3 separate regions of the Homo sapiens genome follow, and regions 1 and 2 are each linked to region 3. The links are contacts of gene promoters, found by promoter capture Hi-C in human tissues and cell types (Jung and others, 2019). All regions are on one chromosome and are shown on one strand. Each heading gives the region's core, a stretch centred on a gene start or on the middle of the fragment in contact. The rest is flanking DNA. Distances are from core to core; before and after follow the strand shown. Region 1 overlaps LOC124909377 (a long non-coding RNA gene). Region 2 overlaps USP19 (ubiquitin specific peptidase 19). Region 3 holds the start of GPX1 (glutathione peroxidase 1).

Region 1 (3,631 bases), core at 565-3,064, 220 kb after region 3:
CAGCACGTTTATTGCTGTTTCCCCAAAGAACTTAAAGAAATACTTGTGAAAACAGCTGAAGGGAAACAGCAAGGCTAGGCGAGGGATGCCTATAGAGAGGACACATCAGGTGGCTCTTTCCTCACCCTGCCTGCCAGCCCTTGACTCTGGTTGACCCCTGACAGGGCTGTAGAGCCCCTGGAACCCTGTGCTGTTTTCCTGCCCAAATACTGCCATGCAGTATGGCCTCTCTGTCCAGGGTAAATGCCAGTGCCCATGGCAGTTCTGAGCAGTGGCTTAGGCAAGGGTTGGTGTGCACCCTCACACCTACACAGGGCCATTCTCATCCTTCAGTATTTTTTTTTTTTTTTGAGACGGAGTCTCGCTCTGTCGCCCAGGTTGGAGTGCAGTGGTGAGATCTCAGCTCACTGCAAGCTCCGCCTCCCAGGTTCATGCCATTCTCCTGCCTCAGCCTCCTGAGTAGCTGGGACTACAGGTGCCCGCCACCACGCCCGGCTAATTTTGTTTTTGTATTTTTAATAGAGACGGGATTTCACCATGTTAGCCAGGATGGTCTCAATCTCCTAACCTCGTGATCTGCCCGCCTCAGCCTCCCAAAGTGCTGGGATTACAGGCGTGAGCCACCGTGCTCAGCCCCTTCAGACATTTTTTTTTGAGACGGGCTCTCACTCTGTCACCCAAGCTGGAGTGCAGTGGCACAATCTTGGCTCATTGCAGTCTCAACCTTCCAGGCTCAAGGGATCCTCCCGCCTTATCTCCTGAGGAGCTGGGACCACAGGTGTGCCCCACCATGTCCAGCTAATTTTTGTATTTTTTGTAGAGATGGGGTTTTTCCATGTTGCCCAGGCTGGTCTTGAACTCCTGAGCTCAAGTGATCCACCCACCTTAGCCTCCCACAGACCTATTATTTTTTCAGAAATAGGGTCTCATGGGTCAGGCACAGTGGCTCACGCCTGTAATCCCAACACTTTGGGAGGCCGAGGCGGGTAGATCATGAGGTCAGGAGTTTAAGACCAGCCTAGCCAATATGGTGAAACCCCGTCTCTACTAAAAATACAAAAAAAAAAAAATTAGCCAGGCATGTTGGCGGTTGCCTGTAGTCACAGCTGCTCAGGAGGCTGAGGCAGGAGAATTGCTTGAACCTGGGAGGTGAAGGTTGCAGTGAGACGAGATCGCACCACTACACTTACAGAGCGAGACTCTGTCTCACAAAAAAAAAAAAAGGAAAAGAAATAGGGTCTCACTCTGTCACCTGGGCTGGAGTACAGTGGCATGATCTTAGCTCACTACAGCCTCAACCTCCCAGGTTCAAGTGATCCTCCCACCTCATCCTGCTGAGTAGCTGAGACTACAGCACACGCCGCCACACCTGGCTAATTTTTAAATTTTTTTGTAGAGACAGGATCTCCCTATGTTGCTCAGGCTGGTCTCAAACTCCTGAGCTCAAGTGATCCTCCTGCCTCAGCCTCCCAAAGTGGTGGGGTTACAGGTGTGAGTCACTGCACCTGGCCCATCCTTCAGGTCTCTCGAAGGTAAGGCTAGAGCTAGTGTCATCTGCTCTCTACCCTGACCCTATCTCTCCTCTGCAGCCTGTGCCTGTGACCCACAGGGCTCCATCTTGCCCAGCTGTGATTCACACATGGGCACCTGCTTCTTCAGAGAGGGCATCTTAGGGCTGAGGTGCCAGGCATGTGCTCATGGCTCCAGAGGTGCCTTCCCACACTGCACCTCCTGTCCCACCTGCTTCACCTTCTGAGACCAACTCCTGGCTCTGCTCCCACTGCAGCTGGAAGCTGTGGCCCAAGAGGTGGCCACCCTATGCTAGGGGATGCCTGGTGGGGGTGTTAGGGGCCAGGGTGGACACCTGCAGGTCCTAGATTGGGTACTGTAGCAGGCACAGGCTGCTCCCTCCAACCTGGGACCCTGCCCACTGTTCAGTGGGCTCTTGTTGCCTTCCACAACTCCTCCCATAGCCTGGACATAGAGTCACAGCCTTGGAGCAGCATCAACAACAGGTACACAGCCAGGGGGACTGTGGGTGGGAGCCATGGGGGAGTCACAGGAAACCATGGCTTGGACATGGTGTTGTAGGCAACATATTCCACATCTGACCCACGCCCACCAGCTGCAGCAAATCCAGGCCATAGCAAGCTCCACAGGAATCCAGGCACAGGAGACATGGTATTGGGAAAGGGGACCTTGGGGCATGACTGCCATGACCCACATGCAAGCAGCCGTGCAGATCATCCAGCGCTTCCTCATGGGTACATATCTGCTTGTTGCATGTCTGTTCACAGCCAAGGGCAGGGTTAATAGGGTATGCAGGACACTATCATGATACTCCTTCCAGAATGAGGAATATTCATCAGGGCTGACCAGGGGTCAAGTGGGAACACTAGTGTGTGCGTAAATTTTTTTTTTTTTTTTGAGAGGGAGTCTTGCTCTGTCACCCAGGCTGGAGTGCAGTGGTGCAATCTCGGCTCACTGCAACCTGCGCCCCCCGGGTTCAAGCGATTCTCCCACCTCAGCCTCCCAAGTAGCTGGGATTACAGGCACACTGTAATTTTTTTTTGTATTTTTAGTAGAGACGGGGTTTCACCATCTTGGCCAGGCTGGTCTTGAACTCCTGACCTCATGATCCACCCGCCTTCGCCTCCCAAAGTGCTGGGATTACAGGCGTGAGCCACCGCATCTGGCCATGTGTGTAGATAAATTTTTAACAACTGGCTGTGAGTCAGGGGAAACTGATTTTTAGCATTTGTCAATATCCATGATGTAAGTAATGCTATCATGATTGATTTCAGTCCATACCATTTGACAACTTATTTGCAAAATTCCTGAAAATTTAACAATTGGCTCTTTTTATTTTAGTATTATTATTATTATTTTTGAGAGGGAGAGTCTCGCTCTGTCACCCAGGCTGGAGTGCAGTGGCGTGATCTCGGCTCACCACAACCGCCACCTCCTGGGTTCAAGCGATTCTCCTGCCTCAGCCTTCTGAGTAGCTGGGATTACAGGCACCCGCCACCACATCCAGCTAATTTTTGTTATTTTTAGTAGAGATGAGTTTTCACTACATTGGCCAGGCTGGTCTCAAACTCCTGACCTTGTAATCTGCCTGCCTTGGCCTCCCAAAGTGCTGGGATTACCCTTTTTTTATTATCATTTTATTTTTTATTTTTTTTAGAGACAGAGTCTCGCTCTGTCACCCAGGCTAGAGTGCAGTGGTGTGATCTTGGCTCACTGCAAGCTCCGCCTCCCGGGTTCAAGCAATTCTCCTGCCTCAGCCTCCTGAGTAGCTGGGAGTACAGGCACATGCCACCATGCCTGGCTAATTTTTTGTATTTTAGTAGAGATGGGTTTTCACCGTGTTGCTCAGGCTGGTCTCGAACTCCTGAGCTCAGGCAATCTGCCTGCTTCGGCCTCCCAAAGTGCTGGGATTACAGGCGTGAGCCACTGCGCCCGGCCAACAATTGCCTCTTGTAAGCCTCCAGCACACCACTGGATAGTTGTGTCTAAGGCAGGATCAGTGAGAGGCTAGGGTCAGGGTTTGTTGGCTCAGAGTTCAGGGTTCAGGCCTAAGATCCCTACCCTCTTCCCCACAGACAAAGGTGTGGACACCACAAGTGTG
Region 2 (3,857 bases), core at 345-2,844, 250 kb after region 3:
TCCTTCCTTGGGCTATCACATGTGTGGATGTGTGTGTGTACTCACCACAGACGTGTGTACAGTCATTGGCATCTACAGACATACACATGGGCTGGGCACAGTGGCTCATGCCTGTAGTCCCAGCACTTTGTGAGGCCGAGGTGGGCAGATCACTTGAGCCCAGGAGTTTGGGACCAGCCTGGGCAACTTGGTGAAACACTGTCTCTACAAGAAATAAAATTAGCTGGGCATGGTGGTACGTGTTATAGTCCCAGCTACTTGGGAGGCTGAGGCAAGAGGCTCACTTGAGCCCGGGATGTGGAGGTTGCAGTGAGCAGAGATTGCACCACAGCACTCCAGCCTGGGTGACAGAGTGAGACTCTGTCTCAAAAATAAATAAATAAATAGATAAAAAAATAAAAATAGGGCCAGGCGTGGTGGCTCATGCCTGTAATCCCAGCTCTTTGGGAGGCCAAGGCTGATGGATCACAAGGTCAGGAGATCCAGACCACCCTGGCTTACATGGTGAAACCCCACCTCTACTAAAAATACAGGAAAAGTTAGCCGGGCGTGGTGGCACATGTCTGTAGTCCCAGCTGCTCAGGAGGCTGAGGCAGGAGAATCGCTTGAACCTGGGAGGCAGAGGTTGCAGTGAGCCGAGATCGCGCCACTGCACTCCAGCCTGGGTGACAGAGTGAGACTCTGTCTCAAAAATAAAATAAAATAAAATAAAAATAGACATACACATGAGTATGCCTGTGACTGTACAAAAACAGGCGATGTGCTGTTATTTTTTCTGTGCAACAGAAGTGCCCTCAGTTCCTAGCCATTATCAGGGTTTATTCCCCTTTGTGGTGGTGGATCCCAACTGCATTTCCCTTTTTAGACAAGGAGCTTGAGCTGCAGGACTATCCCTATGTTCGCTCTGCCTCTCCCTCTATCCTGCTGCTCTCTCCTTTTATCCCAGTTGTGTGTGCTAGCTCTCCCCAGGGGTTCCTAGCCTTTAGCCTGACAGTGTTGGTTTTCTTAGGGGTAAGAGTGGGGAGGAGGCTCTTTGAATGTGGACCCTCCATGATAATATGTTACAGTCTTATAAGGCTATGCTAGTTATAGCAGGGCAGAGTCCCTCAGTGTGGAGAGCTGGTGTGGTTGATATCTGCCTCACACCTGGTCTTTCAGGCCCTCTGATGCACCAGGCTCCTTATGGCATTGGGCACTGAGACAGGTGCCAGCAGAGGCATAAGCCTATTTGGGCCTACAGACCTCACCACTGCCCACATAGACCCAAGGCAGGGCCAAGCCTTCTTAAACTCTGGGGCAGGGCTAGGGAAAGGGCTTATCCTCACGTGGGATCTGTGTGTTCTCTGTCCCCAGGTAATTAAGAATCGTTTTCATCGTGTGTTCCTACCCTCCCACTCACTGGACACTGTGTCCCCATCTGATACGCTCCTCTGCTTTGAGCTGCTATCCTCAGAGTTGGCTAAGGAGCGGGTAGTGGTGCTAGAGGTGCAACAGGTGAGTGGGGGCCAACCTGATGGCACAGCGCCCTGGTGGGTGGGGCACTTCTTCCTGGTCTTGCTGAGCCAGACGACCCACCCTAGCGCCCCCAGGTGCCCAGCGTCCCCATCTCCAAGTGTGCAGCCTGCCAGCGGAAGCAACAGTCGGAGGATGAAAAGCTGAAGCGCTGTACCCGGTGCTACCGTGTGGGCTACTGCAACCAGTGAGGACCCCCATGGTCTCCCCTACCCTTTCTTTCCACCTTCCATGTGCCACCCTGCTCCTTCCCTTCACACCAAGGCACATATGCTTAAGCTTTCTACTTGCCACCCTACTTTACCAGGCTCTGGGGGAGGCAGGGCTGGCGTACCCAGTTCCCAGGGACTATGACTAGCCCCCAGTATGGAGTCATAGGAGATGGGGCTAAGGGCCTATCCTTGTCTTCCTCTTCCCGTCAGGCTCTGCCAGAAAACCCACTGGCCTGACCACAAGGGCCTCTGCCGACCTGAGAACATTGGCTACCCCTTCCTGGTCAGTGTACCTGCCTCACGCCTCACTTATGCCCGCCTCGCTCAGTTGCTAGAGGGCTATGCCCGGTAAGTGCCCAGTGGTTGGACTAGAGTGGTGTAGGTGGGGGCAGAGGTGCTAGATGGGCTGGTCAGGAGTCTTACTTGCGTTGTTCTCTGTTGCCAGGTACTCTGTGAGTGTATTCCAGCCACCCTTTCAGCCAGGCCGCATGGCCTTGGAGTCTCAGAGCCCTGGCTGCACCACACTGCTCTCCACAGGTTCCCTGGAGGCTGGGGACAGCGAGAGAGACCCCATTCAGCCACCTGAGCTCCAGCTGGTGACCCCTATGGCTGAGGGGGACACAGGGCTTCCCCGGGTGTGGGCAGCCCCTGACCGGGGTCCTGTGCCCAGCACCAGTGGAATTTCTTCTGAGATGCTGGCCAGTGGGCCCATTGAGGTTGGCTCCTTGCCAGCTGGCGAGAGGGTGTCCCGACCCGAAGGTAAGATCCAGTGAAAGGCTCTAGAAGCTGGGGAGGAGGATAAGGGAGGATGGAGGGGGCTGTTGTTTAGGGCCTGGTGGGCCTGGTGAGGCCCTGATGGGCAGGGAAGCTTTGATTATCATGTTCTCACACAGCTGCTGTGCCTGGGTACCAGCATCCAAGTGAAGCTATGAATGCCCACACACCCCAGTTCTTCATCTATAAAATTGATTCATCCAACCGAGAGCAGCGGCTAGAGGACAAAGGTGTCTGAGGCTGTGGGTGGGAGCCATGGGGTGGGTTGAGCTGGCTGTTCTCCACAGCTGCATGACCTCTCTCCCTGCGAATCTCCAGGAGACACCCCACTGGAGCTGGGTGACGACTGTAGCCTGGCTCTCGTCTGGCGGAACAATGAGCGCTTGCAGGAGTTTGTGTTGGTAGCCTCCAAGGAGCTGGAATGTGCTGAGGATCCAGGCTCTGCCGGTGAGGCTGCCCGGGCCGGCCACTTCACCCTGGACCAGTGCCTCAACCTCTTCACACGGCCTGAGGTGCTGGCACCCGAGGAGGCCTGGTGAGAACAGAGCAGCAAGTAGATAAGGGGGCAGGATGGAGAAGAGAGAGACTTGCTGGTCCTGACCCAATCTCTGTCCCCACCAGGTACTGCCCACAGTGCAAACAGCACCGTGAGGCCTCCAAGCAGCTGTTGCTATGGCGCCTGCCAAATGTTCTCATCGTGCAGCTCAAGCGCTTCTCCTTTCGTAGTTTTATCTGGCGTGACAAGATCAATGACTTGGTGGAGTTCCCTGTTAGGTAAGCAGTGGACCTTGGTAACTGTGGGTGGGGTGTGAGGACCAGGATGGGCATCCTGAGCGCCTGTTGCCTGTCTCACCCCTCCCTGACTGGACCTGACCTGCAGGAACCTGGACCTGAGCAAGTTCTGCATTGGTCAGAAAGAGGAGCAGCTGCCCAGCTACGATCTATATGCTGTCATCAACCACTATGGAGGCATGATTGGTGGCCACTACACTGCCTGTGCACGCCTGCCCAATGATCGTAGCAGTCAGCGCAGTGACGTGGGTGAGGGCACACACAGCCAGCAGGATAGGTGGTAGGGGTGGTGGTGCAGACTTTGTTCACACTCTTCCCACCCTGCTGTAGGCTGGCGCTTGTTTGATGACAGCACAGTGACAACGGTAGACGAGAGCCAGGTTGTGACGCGTTATGCCTATGTACTCTTCTACCGCCGGCGGAACTCTCCTGTGGAGAGGCCCCCCAGGGCAGGTCACTCTGAGCACCACCCAGACCTAGGCCCTGCAGCTGAGGCTGCTGCCAGCCAGGTGAGGCATGTGGGAGGCTTTACAGAATACTGGGGGACAGTTCACAGACTGGGGCCGG
Region 3 (3,587 bases), core at 804-3,303:
GACTATTTTTTTTTCTTTGCTAGGAGCCGGTGAAACCTGAAGAAGGCAGAGATATGGCAAACAGGATTGGCGCTTTTGGGTACATGGAGTGTTCAGCAAAGACCAAAGATGGAGTGAGAGAGGTTTTTGAAATGGCTACGAGAGCTGCTCTGCAAGCTAGACGTGGGAAGAAAAAATCTGGGTGCCTTGTCTTGTGAAACCTTGCTGCAAGCACAGCCCTTATGCGGTTAATTTTGAAGTGCTGTTTATTAATCTTAGTGTATGATTACTGGCCTTTTTCATTTATCTATAATTTACCTAAGATTACAAATCAGAAGTCATCTTGCTACCAGTATTTAGAAGCCAACTATGATTATTAACGATGTCCAACCCGTCTGGCCCACCAGGGTCCTTTTGACACTGCTCTAACAGCCCTCCTCTGCACTCCCACCTGACACACCAGGCGCTAATTCAAGGAATTTCTTAACTTCTTGCTTCTTTCTAGAAAGAGAAACAGTTGGTAACTTTTGTGAATTAGGCTGTAACTACTTTATAACTAACATGTCCTGCCTATTATCTGTCAGCTGCAAGGTACTCTGGTGAGTCACCACTTCAGGGCTTTACTCCGTAACAGATTTTGTTGGCATAGCTCTGGGGTGGGCAGTTTTTTGAAAATGGGCTCAACCAGAAAAGCCCAAGTTCATGCAGCTGTGGCAGAGTTACAGTTCTGTGGTTTCATGTTAGTTACCTTATAGTTACTGTGTAATTAGTGCCACTTAATGTATGTTACCAAAAATAAATATATCTACCCCAGACTAGATGTAGTATTTTTTGTATAATTGGATTTCCTAATACTGTCATCCTCAAAGAAAGTGTATTGGTTTTTTAAAAAAGAAAGTGTATTTGGAAATAAAGTCAGATGGAAAATTCATTTTTTAAATTCCCGTTTTGTCACTTTTTCTGATAAAAGATGGCCATATTACCCCTTTTCGGCCCCATGTATCTCAGTACCCCATGGAGCTGGGCTAAGTAAATAGGAATTGGTTTCACGCCTGAGGCAATTAGACACTTTGGAAGATGGCATAACCTGTCTCACCTGGACTTAAGCATCTGGCTCTAATTCACAGTGCTCTTTTCTCCTCACTGTATCCAGGTTCCCTCCCAGAGGAGCCACCAGTTCTCATGGGTGGCACTCAGTCTCTCTTCTCTCCAGCTGACTAAACTTTTTTTCTGTACCAGTTAATTTTTCCAACTACTAATAGAATAAAGGCAGTTTTCTAAACTTCCTGTATCCTGTTGTTTGTGTTGCTCTCTCCAGGGCTGGGGGTAGGAGGATGCAAGGACTTCCTGGCCTAGCTCACCCTGGAGAGGTTTGTTGAGTGCAAAGGACTAGCTTGTGCCCCACCTCCCACCCACCCAGCAGCTAATCTGGTCCCTCCCAACAACATGGAAATGATTACCCTGTACCGCATTCTGGTTCAGATTTGGGGGTAGGGTGAATGCAGCCTGAGGAGGCCAGGGAGGGAGGACTCCGGCAGCGTTTCCTTGGCCTCGGCGAGCTACTGGGCTCCACTTAAGGAGGCTGGGGCAGAGCTTCCAGGACTCTGCCCGGTTAGAAAACCCGCACGAGGGCGGTGCCGCTTTGGAGACAGGGAGGAGGGAGACCGGAAGCCTAGATCCCTCTGGCTGTCCCCTGCACTGCCGGTAACATGGCACAGGAGAGGAGGGCTGTTTGTGCACGGGCAGCTCCTGCAGCTGCTGCCGTCGCCCACCAGCCTCCTATGCCAAACCCCACATCCTAACTCAGGAACCTCTGAGAAAAAACGGAGCCCTCGAGGGCCCCAGCCCTTGGAAGGGTAACCTGGACCGCTGCCGCCTGGTTGCCTGGGCCAGACCAGACATGCCTGCTGCTCCTTCCGGCTTAGGAGGAGCACGCGTCCCGCTCGGGCGCACTCTCCAGCCTTTTCCTGGCTGAGGAGGGGCCGAGCCCTCCGGGTAGGGCGGGGGCCGGATGAGGCGGGACCCTCAGGCCCGGAAAACTGCCTGTGCCACGTGACCCGCCGCCGGCCAGTTAAAAGGAGGCGCCTGCTGGCCTCCCCTTACAGTGCTTGTTCGGGGCGCTCCGCTGGCTTCTTGGACAATTGCGCCATGTGTGCTGCTCGGCTAGCGGCGGCGGCGGCGGCGGCCCAGTCGGTGTATGCCTTCTCGGCGCGCCCGCTGGCCGGCGGGGAGCCTGTGAGCCTGGGCTCCCTGCGGGGCAAGGTACTACTTATCGAGAATGTGGCGTCCCTCTGAGGCACCACGGTCCGGGACTACACCCAGATGAACGAGCTGCAGCGGCGCCTCGGACCCCGGGGCCTGGTGGTGCTCGGCTTCCCGTGCAACCAGTTTGGGCATCAGGTGCGCCGGGCGGAGCGGGGCGGGGCGGGGGCGGACGTGCAGTAGTGGCTGGGGGCGCCGGCGGTGTGCTGGTGGGTGCCGTCGGCTCCATGCGCGGAGAGTCTGGCTACTCTCTCGTTTCCTTTCTGTTGCTCGTAGCTGCTGAAATTCCTCTCCGCCCTTGGGATTGCGCATGGAGGGCAAAATCCCGGTGACTCATAGAAAATCTCCCTTGTTTGTGGTTAGAACGTTTCTCTCCTCCTCTTGACCCCGGGTTCTAGCTGCCCTTCTCTCCTGTAGGAGAACGCCAAGAACGAAGAGATTCTGAATTCCCTCAAGTACGTCCGGCCTGGTGGTGGGTTCGAGCCCAACTTCATGCTCTTCGAGAAGTGCGAGGTGAACGGTGCGGGGGCGCACCCTCTCTTCGCCTTCCTGCGGGAGGCCCTGCCAGCTCCCAGCGACGACGCCACCGCGCTTATGACCGACCCCAAGCTCATCACCTGGTCTCCGGTGTGTCGCAACGATGTTGCCTGGAACTTTGAGAAGTTCCTGGTGGGCCCTGACGGTGTGCCCCTACGCAGGTACAGCCGCCGCTTCCAGACCATTGACATCGAGCCTGACATCGAAGCCCTGCTGTCTCAAGGGCCCAGCTGTGCCTAGGGCGCCCCTCCTACCCCGGCTGCTTGGCAGTTGCAGTGCTGCTGTCTCGGGGGGGTTTTCATCTATGAGGGTGTTTCCTCTAAACCTACGAGGGAGGAACACCTGATCTTACAGAAAATACCACCTCGAGATGGGTGCTGGTCCTGTTGATCCCAGTCTCTGCCAGACCAAGGCGAGTTTCCCCACTAATAAAGTGCCGGGTGTCAGCAGAACTGTGTGTATGTCCTGTGTCATTGTCATTTGGGAATTCTTTTTCTTTTCTTTTTTTTTTTTTTTTTTTGAGACGGAGTTTTTTGCTCTATTGCCCAGGCTGGAGTGCAGTGGCGCAATCTAGGCTCACTGCAAGCTCCGCCTCCCGGGTTCACGCCATTCTCCTGCCTCAACCTCCTGAGTAGCTGGGACTACAGGTGCCTGCCACCACGCCCGGCTAATTTTTTGTATTTTTAGTAGAGACAGGGTTTCACCGTGTTAGCCAGGATGGTATCGATCTCCTGACCTCGTGATCCACCCGCCTCGGCCTCCCAAAGTGCTGGGATTACAGGTATGAGCCACCGCACCCGGCCTGGCGA

What was found. The method cuts DNA at HindIII sites, captures the fragments that hold promoters and counts their contacts. A contact is called where the count stands out against the background at its distance.
Region 1: a contact is called between a fragment that was not itself captured here and the fragment with the promoter of GPX1 in region 3, in 10 of the 25 tissues and cell types used here (aorta, dorsolateral prefrontal cortex, hippocampus and 7 more).
Region 2: a fragment that was not itself captured here is called in contact with the fragment with the promoter of GPX1 in region 3 in 3 of the 25 tissues and cell types used here (bladder, dorsolateral prefrontal cortex and lymphoblastoid cells).

What each region holds. Positions count from the first base shown.
Region 1 is chr3:49,136,330-49,139,960 of GRCh38, reverse strand. All of the region lies in intron 1 of LOC124909377 (a long non-coding RNA gene), which reads right to left. Among named protein-coding and RNA genes, the nearest start is that of LAMB2, 5.1 kb to the right of the region's middle. RefSeq lists a silencer at 3,431-3,631. The HindIII fragment of the contact is 9,716 bases long and covers 1-3,631 here.
Region 2 is chr3:49,110,126-49,113,982 of GRCh38, reverse strand. It overlaps USP19 (ubiquitin specific peptidase 19), which reads left to right. Exons shown (of 27, transcript NM_001199161.2): 18 at 1,354-1,494; 19 at 1,581-1,699; 20 at 1,935-2,072; 21 at 2,170-2,483; 22 at 2,618-2,728; 23 at 2,817-3,033; 24 at 3,120-3,272; 25 at 3,379-3,539; 26 at 3,621-3,799. Among named protein-coding and RNA genes, the nearest start is that of QARS1, 7.3 kb to the right of the region's middle. The HindIII fragment of the contact is 5,151 bases long and covers 1-3,857 here.
Region 3 is chr3:49,356,819-49,360,405 of GRCh38, reverse strand. It overlaps GPX1 (glutathione peroxidase 1), which reads left to right and starts at 2,053. Exons shown (of 2, transcript NM_000581.4): 1 at 2,053-2,379; 2 at 2,659-3,230. The coding sequence starts at 2,128. The coding sequence ends at 3,018. It overlaps RHOA (ras homolog family member A), which reads left to right. Exons shown (of 5, transcript NM_001664.4): 5 at 24-1,261. The coding sequence ends at 197. RefSeq lists enhancers at 1,160-1,768, 1,531-1,860, 1,769-2,377 and a silencer at 2,021-2,080. The HindIII fragment of the contact is 32,276 bases long and covers 1-3,587 here.